3 separate regions of the Homo sapiens genome follow, and all the other regions are linked to region 1. Evidence: promoter capture Hi-C in human tissues and cell types (Jung and others, 2019). All regions are on one chromosome and are shown on one strand. The core of a region is centred on a gene start or on the middle of the fragment in contact, and the rest is flanking DNA. Distances in the headings are between cores, read along the strand shown. Region 1 holds the start of GDF6 (growth differentiation factor 6). Region 2 overlaps CFAP418-AS1 (CFAP418 antisense RNA 1). Region 3 overlaps CFAP418-AS1 (CFAP418 antisense RNA 1).

What was found. Contacts are between HindIII fragments. The study calls those that stand out against the background at their distance.
Region 2: a fragment that was not itself captured here is called in contact with the fragment with the promoter of GDF6 in region 1 in 1 of the 25 tissues and cell types used here (lymphoblastoid cells).
Region 3: a fragment that was not itself captured here is called in contact with the fragment with the promoter of GDF6 in region 1 in 1 of the 25 tissues and cell types used here (mesenchymal stem cells).

The regions. Positions count from the first base shown.
Region 1 is chr8:96,159,204-96,162,956 of GRCh38, forward strand. It overlaps GDF6 (growth differentiation factor 6), which reads right to left and starts at 1,603. Exons shown (of 2, transcript NM_001001557.4): 1 at 1,084-1,603. The coding sequence starts at 1,489. The HindIII fragment of the contact is 22,921 bases long and covers 1-3,753 here.
Region 2 is chr8:95,657,288-95,661,040 of GRCh38, forward strand. The region is part of intron 3 of CFAP418-AS1 (CFAP418 antisense RNA 1); the gene reads left to right. Among named protein-coding and RNA genes, the nearest start is that of TRS-AGA2-5, 390 kb to the left of the region's middle. The HindIII fragment of the contact is 4,595 bases long and covers 1-3,753 here.
Region 3 is chr8:95,750,946-95,754,698 of GRCh38, forward strand. All of the region lies in intron 3 of CFAP418-AS1 (CFAP418 antisense RNA 1), which reads left to right. Among named protein-coding and RNA genes, the nearest start is that of GDF6, 410 kb to the right of the region's middle. The HindIII fragment of the contact is 3,378 bases long and covers 51-3,428 here.

The DNA.
Region 1 (3,753 bases), core at 353-2,852:
TTTCTTCCTTCCTTCTCTTTACTCTTCCTTTCCTTTTTCTCCCTTCCTTTCCTGTCTCCTTCCACATTATTGTCTCTCTCCTTTAGGAGCTTAGTTTCCGATGCCTGTGGATCCTTCCCTGATTTCTGGGACCAGAGGTGGTGCGAGGTTTTCTTGAGGGCACTGGCCACGCTGCAGATCAACGCCGGTGGCAAGAAGGGGCCGCAAGGGTTTCCGCAGACACCCACACATGCAGGCGTTCCCACAGAGGGTACCAGGGATTTCCCAGACCCCCACCAGCCCTCAGGAATAGCGTAGAGAGAGGAACGTCGCCTGGCTGAGAAAGGTGGATGGGCATACCCATGTACCTTTGTGTATTAAGTACCCACAACCTCCGAACTTAGCCGTCCCTGTCCCGGCCCGCCCAACTGCTGCCGCCGCATCTGCAGAAACCACTCGTGTTGAGGCCTCGGAGCAGCCGGGAGCACCACGCTGGAGCAAAAAAGCCGGAGGGCGCAGGGCTCCAGCCCGGCTGACCATCCCACCCAGCGCAGGGACCAACGGAAAACCCGCGCGGCGCCAGGACCAGGGGGCTGCCCGACGCCGCTCGCGGACTAGTTCCTCAGACTGTGGGACTCCCTAGTGCCGGCTTTGCCCAGGGCTTTCCAAGGCTGTCTCATGCCCTAGATCTGCCCCAGCAGCTCAGGCCTTGGACTGCGAACCCAGTATCCCGAGACACCGATTCCATCAGTCCCCATCCCGACCCCTCTCCAGCCGGGTTCATCCGCCTGCTGCCTCCCGTCCTCCACGTTTCCCCCACCAGCCACCAACAAGCGGCAACCACGCTGCCTTCTGCAAAAGAGGAAGAAGGAAAGAAGGGAGAGAGAAAGAAAGGGGGGGAAAGGAAGGGAGGTTTAGAGACTGGAATAGAATCCGCAGCCACATTCAGAAACTTACTCGAGCTTGAGAAAAACAATTTAAGAAAAGTAAAAAGGAAGTGTCCAGAGCAGGAAGGGAATTCACAAATGTAGCCTCCAGCGGGAACAGCTCCCTGGCTGCCGAGCTCCAGCGGGAGGGGAGTCGAGCGTTTTCTTTGCCACTTACCTAGTCCCCTGTCTACAAAGCTGGTGATCGTATTAGCCGACTTGGAAGACTGGAAAAAGCTGGCATTGATGCCCAGCTTCTCAGCGATGGAGTAAGTCCTGTAGATTGACAGCATGTACTCGTGGGGCACCACGCGCGGACCCCTGCCTGGCGGCTCCTGCGCCCGGGGCTGCTGAGCCCGGGGTTCGTCCTGAGGCCGCGGCTGTGGTTCCTGGCCCTCCCGGCCCGCGTCACTGTCGCGCGGCGCCCGCTGCATCTTGCCTTCCTTGCGGCTTCGCATGCCCTTGGTGGAACCCAGCTCGGCGGACGACGAGGAGGATGAGATGGAAGCCTGCTGGAAACCGGGCAAATCCCACAGAAAACTGATGAGGAAGACGGCCGAGAGCAGGACCCTGGGAGTATCCATGGCGGGCAAGTGGCTGCGTCTCCCCAGGAGGCGGTGGCGGCGGCGCAGGACGCGCGGGGCACGGAGCGGCTGGACAGCGGCCGGGGCCCGGCTCCTCGGGCGGACTCGGAGTGCGAGGAGCCGGGTCCCAGCCACACAAACCCCGGCCCCGCCACGCCCCCTCCCGCCCCTCGCCGGGAGGGGAGGAATGGGGAGGGAGGGCAGAGGAGGGGTGGGGAGGGTGGGAGGAGAGCCGGGTGGTGCGGGCCGGAGGTGTGGGGGAGAGGGGCCGCGGTGCGCCGGTGTGGCAGGAAGACGCAGCGCCCCCGCGGGACGCGCGCGGGGTTGCCGGGCGGTGCGCGCGGCGCGGGCCGCAAGCGCTGACCGGGGGAAGGCGGGCGCTGCCGGCCCGTGGCCGGGGAGCAAAGGCTGGCCCGCCGCGCCAGGGTCCCCCTCGAACTCCCGGAGGTGTGGTCCCTCCGCAGCGCGGCCCCGGCTCTCGGTCCTCGCCAGCCGCCTCCACTTTCCTGGGAGCGAGCGGCCCCGGAGGAGGGAAGCGGCGGCGGCGCCCCCAAGAGACAGCTTGGAGCAGGCGCCTCTGCTGCAGGCTGCGTGCTGCCTCGGGGCGGTGGTACCCTCCCTCCTCGGCCCCAACCGCCAGGCCTGCCGTTTGCGCCCCTCAGGGGCCAGCCCGGAGCCAGAGAAGCCTCGCCCTGGGCCAGGCGCAGGGCCCAGCTCGGAACAGCCCCATTTTCTCGGTTGGGTATCGCTCTCCACAAAGACAGGCGTCTATTCCCGACCCTCGAGGTCAGGCAAAGGCCACGAGTCTTTAGAGTTTGGATCGATGCTAAAAGCTGCTGCGCTCCCCTGCAGGCCCCAGCCTCTCCTCTCGCAGTCCCCAACCTCTTCTGACGCAGACTTTAGCTGCTCCACTTCTTCGTCTGCTCCCGGGATCCTCTCCCTCTCGCGGCCTGCCCCCCGCCTCCACTGCATCCCCATTTTCCCTCTCTTCTTTCCCTCCCGCCTGCAGGACTTCCTCCTTCCCCAAGTTCCTTCTGCATTCCAATCCCTCTTCCCCAGCCTGCTTTTCTTCTCACACTGCCCTCCCATCTCACACTGCCTTCCCACCCTCTCTCTTCCCGGCCTCCCCCCTCGCCTTCCAGTGGACCCCTCCCTTTGCAGCTCTACCCCAATCTGTTTCTCTTCAGCCCAGCCTCGCCCCATCACGAGTTTCCTTTATCTGTCCCCAGATTCCCCGTGCCTGTCTTCCCCGCCCACTGCCTCGCTCATTCCTGGGCCTGCACGCTGAAAGGCGATGCGGCGTAGCGCTGCTTCTGTCTGCCACAGTGCTCTGCCCTGGACTGCTATGGGCAGAAGAGTTTCCCTCAGTACTGATTGGGTGCTCAGGCACCAACCATAAAGTACCCTCCTTTAATCGTGCCAACAGCTTTGTGAGGTTGGCGTTGACTATTTTCACCTTCACGGATGGAAAAAAAAAAGACTCAATGGAAATAAGTGACTTTTCCAAGGCCACTCTGCCAAGAGGTTATGCAGCAAGGGACAGAACCCAGGCTCCCACCCCAAGCCCAAGATTCTTCCCACTACAGCATAGACAGTCATTCCTGGCCCAACTTCTCTATTTCAGTTCTGGCTTTTTTCTTCTCTTTATGGTTTCACTTGATCTCAGGTGGCTTCTTTCTCCGCCATGCTACTTTCTGTGTGTGTTCCCAGTCTCTCCAATCTCCTCCCTCTCACTTTCTAACCCCTTCTTCCTTTTGCTTTTTCATCACCTCTTCTGTCCTGCAGGGACCACTCACATGACAGCCTGCAGGGGGAGGGAGTTTTGCTGCGCTGCTCCCCTCATCCTTTAACTTCCTTAAGGTCTGGGATATGCCCTCCACCCTGGACACTGGCCTCCTCCAGGTAATGGCAAGCACCCACAGAGAACTTGTGTGTCAGTCATGGTTTGAAGCCCTTCGCCAATATTATTTTACTTAATCTTCACAGCAATCCTGAAATAAGTGCTGTATTATTCCTATTTTACAGATAGGGAAAGTGAGGCCCAGGGTCACACTACTCCAGAGTCTGGGCTCTTAATCACTGGGCTATTGAGCTTGGCTGCTCTCCCCTTGGTCTCCGTGGATGCCCCTTCTGGCCCTATCCCAATTCTACTTATGTCCCCTAGTTTGGGTTTCATGGTTGTCAAGTTCTGAGACCTTATACTTGAAGGTGCTTTTACTATAATATTTTCTTCCTTCCTCTCTCTGTGCTTTAAAATGGCTTGT
Region 2 (3,753 bases), core at 789-3,288, 500 kb before region 1:
GAATGTAAATGAGTCCAGCCACTGTGAAAAGAAGTCTGGAAATTTCTCAAAGAACTTAAAACAGAGCTACTGTTAGACCCAGCAATCTTATTACTAGGTATATACCCAAAAGAAAACAAATCATTCTACCAGAAAGACACCTGAAGTTGTATGTTCATTCCTAGGCTATTCACAATAGCAAAGACATGGAATCAACCCAAGTGCCCATCAGTGGTAGACTGAATAAAGAAAATATGGGATATTTATACCATGAAACAATATACAACCATAAAAAATAATGGAATCATGTCCTTTGCAGTAACATGGATGGGGCTGGAGGCTATAATCTTAAGCAAATGAATGCAGGAACAGAAAACTAAAAATTGCATGTTCTCATTGATAAGAGGGAGCTGAACAGTGAGCACATATACACAAAAATATTGGAACACTAGAAACTGCGGCCTACTAGAGGGTGGAGGGAAACAGGTTGGTATATACCCAAAACTACCTGTTGGGTACTATGCTCACTAACTGGGTAATGGGATCCATACTCCAAACCTCAATATCACTCACTATTCTCATGTAACAAATCTGCACATGTACCTCCTATATCTAAAATAAAAGTTGAAATTTAAAAAAAAATCTACGAGACAGGTGGGGAAATTAAAACAGATTTGTAGGCCAGAAGATCTGACATTTATCAAAGGTGAACTTAAATGTTTCTAGTGGTCAGAGCAAAACAAATAATAATTACCTGTTTCCTATATATGCCCATAAAGAAAATACACGTGAATTCCTTAGGGAAAGCAAAGATCATCTCCAACAGTTGTAAATCTCTTGAGTTCTAGGAACAAGTTTTTTGTTTTCTGTTTTTTAATCTTTGCATTGCCCCACAGCTCCCATGACAGTGCCATGCACTGTGCAAGGACTCAATAAATATTTGTTAGATATTTTTTTTGCAGAGATTTCGTTGACCCAGGGAATGGCCAATGTGAGAGTACCTCAACTCTGTAGACTTACAATGTCAACTCACGCAGTGTATCATCAGCTTGGAGGTTCTTGACTGACAATAGCTGATAGCTGATCCATGGCGACCCAAATACCCACTGCTTCCCCCACCTATTTAATGGTTAACTTATTTTTTTCATCTCATTGTAGTTAGTGACTTCAACATAAACTCAAAATTCCCTCCCTTTTTTTTACTGTTTATTTTTCCCAATCATAACTTTTACAAGTGTTTCAAATAATTTCTTCAAAGATTTGCACATTAATTAACAGAAGGTAGTTGTGGTGAGGTACCAAGAAGCCCCTCAAATTTACTGGACTAGATTCTTGGTTTTGTATGTCCACAAGTAAGTCTGTTGATTAGAGGCATGAAGAAGCCATGAAGAACTGATTATCATGAAGACAATGGCAGAGTAATAAGGACAGCAGCAAACTATCCTATTTGTCCAGGCTTTTTATTTTCCTGGACTGTTTTCAACGTTGTCTTTATTCTCATCTGCGAAACAGAAGAAGGGTTTGGCTCAGAAGCAGCAGCTGAGAGAATGCCTGCCATGCTGTGTCCCTGTCTCCCTGCCATGTCCTTACAGGTGGGAGTGATATACCTGGCTCCCTGCCTTGGCGCCTTTGTTCATGGCTCCCAGGAATCTACCTTTGCACCCTCCACTTTCCCTTCCTTCTCCACCCTGCCTGTGGCCCACTCTTTCAACCTGAGAACTTATCCTGGCTGCCAATAGGCAGTGCTAATGCCAGCTTAGTCTTTCTCACCCAGGTGGCTAAAGGCCAGCGTTTCAACATGAAACCTTTCCCAGATACTCATAGCACCTGAGTGCATGTAAACGTTTGTACTCTGAGTTGCTAGAATGAGAGAGCCGTCAGGTATACAGAGGTGCTACAGTGGAAAGCTTTCTTTGTCGCATGTGATTATCTCAATGAAGAAAATATGAGTGGAATCCAATGACTTCCTCTGTCATCTTCCTGCCTCTGGCATCTACCTGTTCATGTTTATGCTCAACTGCTGATTAATCTTTTCAGATGGTTTATCATATCCCTGTTCAGGAGCTACTATCTACTCTGGGAAATGTAAACACTTCATCCAGGTGTTCAAATTCCTCAGCTTTGCTAGATGAAAACACCAAGGATACGACAACTTGCAAGAGTTTTACAATCCCCAAGTTCATTCTCCTGAGAGAACAACAGGTAGAAATCCAGACAGGTGGAGTGACCTGTTCAAGGCCACACAGCTATACATAGCAAATCTGGGAACGGAGGCAAGAAGGAGGTCAAACCACTGGCCAAAGTTTATCTTCCCTAAAGCACATGTGCTTCCTTAATCGCAACTCAGTGAACAGAACATGGAAAGATACATCATTATCATTGAACTCTGTGTGCATATGTGAGAATCTAGTGGTTGGAGGTTAGAAAGCTTGGGAACATGTGTTTATGTTGACAGCATAACAAGTTGTTAAGTCTACAGACTTTGGGGTTAGGCTGTGATTGAATCTAAGCTGTCCCTTGTTAGCTATCTATATACTTGAGCAAGTTTCTTAACCTCTTTGATACTGAAAATGCTCATTGATGAGATGGAGTTATGACTTTTTTGCCAAAATGTTGTGATGATATCACTAAGGGAAATGATTATTATTAAAACTATTCTACAATGCTGACATAACATTTATGTCATTCAAAGTGATGTATTATCACCCCTCACATACCCTTTCTTTCCCAGCTTCTTGTTCTTTTCTCCTGTCTGCCTTTGGATGAACTACTCTTTTTTCTATACAGTAAATTCCTTACCTTCTCAATATATCTGCTTCACCGCCAAGGTAGCTCTATCATCTTTCTCATTTGCTTCATGATTCTGCAGAGCCTTCGTTAGCCAAAATCTTTGAAAGAGCATCATGGGAGGAAAGTGGAGAAGATATCAATCAGTAGGTGGTTTATTTGTTACCTGTAAATTATGTGATTTCAGCAGTGTATTAGTTAAGATTCTTTTAGTTTAGTGACAGCAAAATGGACCTCAACTGGCTTAAGTTTTTTTATTGTGTGAGTTTACTATTTCTGCTGTAACAATTTACCACAAATTTTAGTAGCTTAAAATAATCCAGATTTATTCTTATGACTCTGGAGCTCAGAAGTCTGAGATGGGTCTCATGGGGCTAAAATCAAGGTGTCAGCAGGACTGCGTTCCTTCCAAGGGCTCTAGGAGATAATTTGTCCTTCTTGCCTTTTCCAGCTTCTACATGCTTCCTGCATGCCTGGCTCATGGACCCACAATACAATGACTAAGGTGTAAAATGGGCACATAAGAGGGCCCCTAAGGATCTATTCCAGTGCTATTGCTGTTATCTACTTATAGTGTGTTGAATGGTGTACCCCCAAAATTCATGTCTACATGTAACCTCAGAACAGGATCTTATTAGTAAATAGGATCTTAACAGATGCAATTAGTTAAGATGAGGTCATACTGGACTAGGTTGGGCCCTAAATCCAATGACACGTGTTCTTATAAGAACAGATTTACATGGCCTGGGAGGGGAGATCACAGACAGAGCCATACAGGGAAGAAGGCCATGTGAACATGAAAGCAGAGAATGGAATGATGCAGCTACAAGGCAAGTAATGACAAGGTTGCTGGGAGCCACCAGAAGCTAGGAAGAGGCAAGAAATGAGTCTTCCTTAGGGCCTTCAAAGAGAGCACAGCCCTGCAGGCACCTTGATTTTGGGCTTCTACTCTTCAGAACTCTGAGAGAATAAATTTCCATTGTTTTA
Region 3 (3,753 bases), core at 490-2,989, 410 kb before region 1:
AATGAATAGATGAAGCAATAGCTATGAGGATGAGTAGAGAGATGGACATAGCACTCACAAATGAATAGATGGAGTCTCCATAGCACAGTGGTGGAGCACATGAGCTCTAGAGCCACACTGCTTGGGCTCAAACCCTGGCTCCACTGCTCCCTTGGCAAATTAGTTAACTTTTTTATTTTTTGGCTCAGTTACCACATCTTAAAACAGGAATAATACTACTACTATCCTCATAAGACTTCTATGACAAGTTAAATGAGTTAATACACAGGAAGCACATAGAATAGCACATGGCATATGGGGACTTCTCAACCAATTCTTGCTATTAGTGTTATTGTATCTATTATCATTGATGGGTGAAGTCATAGGGCAGGTTGCATAGGTAAAGGACAGACAAAATGTGACAAAATGGCTTACGAAAATCAGAAACAACCTTGAACTAATGACAAAGAGAAACAAGACAGAAAATTGTTCCCAATATCAGAGGAAATATAAGACTAAACCTGCAGCCTACTCATCAGAGGGAAAGAAAATGTTGGAGAAAAAGTCATGGAGGAAAGAGTACCTAGGCTGGCCAAGTGTGGTGGCTCACGCCTGTAATCCCAGCATTTTGGGAGGCCAAAGTAGAAGGATCACTTGAGTCCAGGAGTTCAAGACCAGCCCGGGCAATATAGTGAGATGTCATCTCCACAAAAAATAAAAAATTATCTGGGCGTCATGGTGCATGCCTGTAGTCCCAAGCTACTCAGGAGGCTGAGGCAGAAGAATTGCTTAAGCACGTGAGGTTGAGACTGCGGTGAGCAGTGATTGTGCCACTCCACTCAGCTTGGACAACAGAGTGAGACCTTGTCTCTAAGAAAGACAGAAAGAAAGAAAAGAAAAAAAAGAAAAGAGTACCTAGGCAGTGTTTGTGTCCAAGATTTGTGTCTAAAGAGCCGGTAATTACTTCCTTGAACAGGACAGTGCAATGAAACCAATGTTGTTGCCTGTTTCCATCAGTTCATCTGTCCCATGGTGATGTTTGTCAATATCTCTGAGGGGACTCTGCCTGCACAGTGTTTGTTAAATGCAGAGAATTAAGAATACATGCGTAAGCAAGAGAACTTGGTTAGGATTCCAAGCGCATTCCAACTATGGAGACTAGTCAGTGTCGATTTTGTGAGCCACAAAGGATGCTTTGTTGCCGGCCACTGGACACAGTGGGGCCCAGCTGAGGGAAATCTTTGGGGGCCTAAAATCCAGGATGTACTCTGATTGCTGAGCCGTGAGCCCCAGCACAGGCCTGAGTTCGCCTGAAAGAAGGCGCCTCTTCACTAACTGGCCTGCCCAGAGGGGGCGTCTTTCTGCAAGGGTCCCTCCCAGAGGGACCGTCTTTTTCTAATTAGCACAGAGGCCCATCAGCGCTTGCAGCAGCCCCTATGTGCAGGGCTGGGAGGTTTTTAAACCAACTGCAAGATAAGTTGGTTTTCAGGAAGAGAAGAGATTAATGGGGCCACAGAAAGATGGATGGGAGCTTGGCGCTGCCTCTGCCGCCCCTCACACACGCTGTGGCTAGCAGTGAGGCCAAGGGGAATGACCCTGAGTAGAGTTACATATTTTTCACACCTCCTACTAAAACTCAGCAAATGCTTGACTCGCTGTTCCCAGCACAATTTTTCTTCCTGCAAAACGTGTTGGGATTATCGCTTTTAGCCGCATGTGTGCTGGAAGTATTTTGTAGGGGCCCCAGGGGCTGCAACTGTTCAAATCCCTATCCTTGAGAGGGAGCTTGGGGAGGCAGGGACCCAAAGTGCCTGTCCGAGAGCTCCCCCATAGAGGGCTGGCTCCCACTAATTAAGTCCAGTTTCCAAGACTGAATCAAAGCTGCCATCCCAATGATTTTAAGAGTCAGGAGGTAAAATACAAGTTTCAACCCCAACACCTTCCCCTTATCCATCTTCTTGAGCCATTTCAGGACATTGGGTAACATATGATTTTTCTTTAGTCAATTCGAGATATTATCTGCTGAAATAGCTCTACTGGTATGAGAGGGAGGTTTCAAAATATGTAACAGATGCACAGCTGCCACCTGAGATGATGCATTATGAAGTCGAAACTGTCATCACCTCCCCCACCACCCCTACCCTCACCCCAAGCACATATTTGTTCATGTGGTTTACACCTGCGAGATTGTGGGATGCAAGAGAGGAATCTGATTACTGTTTGGGAGACAACCCCATCTCTAAAACCGATCCATGTATCTTTGTTTCCCTGGAGAAGCTTGAAATCTCTTACCAACTCTTCTTGTGGTCTAGCTGAGTTAAAGCTCCAGTCCAAGTTTTCTGGAATTTGGTACCAATAACTAACTCTTGAGGCCATCATACAATAAGCCTTATGATATCTCTCCATCTCAGTCTCTCCATTTGTATCTTGCCAGGAGGGCAGAGCAATTTTTCAGTGCCTTCATAAGTAGGTGCTCTTGTGTACTCTGGCTAAAAGGGAAATGGAAAACTCCTGGCCCATGCTCATCTGAGGCAAATGATGATTTTGTTTCACTGTATTTAGAGGGAGGGTTCCTGCCACTGTCTGATAAAAAACACCATCTAAGTAAGTAAGTACCAGCAATGAAAAACTCCTGAGAAGACAAAGAGAAGCAGAAGGGTATTCCAAGAAGTTGCCATGGACAGGTAAGAGAGACATAATGAATGTCTGATTAGAGAGGGCCCTTCTGCAACAATACAAATTGAAAGAATTTCTGCTCACCAAGACCCTTGCACAGTTTTTAATTATATGTTGATATGTTAACTTGATTAATATTGATTTACTCCACTAGATTTTAAACTTCATGAAAGCAGAGAATCTGTTTTGCTCCTCATTGTATTGCTTATGTCCAGAATAGTACCCAGCACATAGTAGGTGCTCAACAAATATTTTTTGAATGACAGAATACCCCCAGAATACAAGCTGTACATCTGAATAATTGATCTCTAGGACAAACTTCCCATTCTCTATGGAGGGAACTCTGCCTGCAGATGTGAATGTGAGGCAAACTTAGTCGTATTAATTCAAGCCTTTTTTTTTTCTTTTTTTGAGTCAGTGTCTCTCTCAGTCACCCAGGCTGGAGTACAGTGGCACAAGCTTGGCTCACTGCAACCTTTGCCTCCTGAGTTCAAGCGATTCTCCTGCCTCAGCCTCCCGATTAGGTGGGATTACAGGCTCATGTCACCATGACAGGCTAATTTTTGTATATTTAGTAGAGATGGGGTTTCACCATGTTGGCCAGGCTGGTCTCAAACTAATCAGGAGCTCAAACTAAGTGTTTGAATGGGAATGTCAATAAACACAGGGGTCAGAAGTCAAACCAGAAGTTTGACTTAGATGCTTAATTATTAAGGCAATGAAGATAAATGTCTCAGCATCACAAATGTATTGAACACTCATCCACCTACCAGAGGGAGTTCCACCCAGCCATAAGCTATTTCAAAGACTTGGATCCCAAAGGAGAGAGCAAGAAATTGATGTATTTATCACAAACCCTGGACAGAGGGATGAGATTTTAATTGATGCTTTGCTTTGTCCTTTTGGTTCTCTATTCTGACTGCCTAGTGATGAAAGATCCTTAGTTTTGGTCTGTTGAGGAAAGCCTCTCACTCTAATAGTAATAATGATCAGAGCATCAGAAATGTGGACTGCTCGAAGCAGCACTTTGGACCACATTCCTCAGTTTTGGGGGCTTTTAGTTGACTAGCCCTCTTCTTGCTTCCAAGCTTGCAAAAC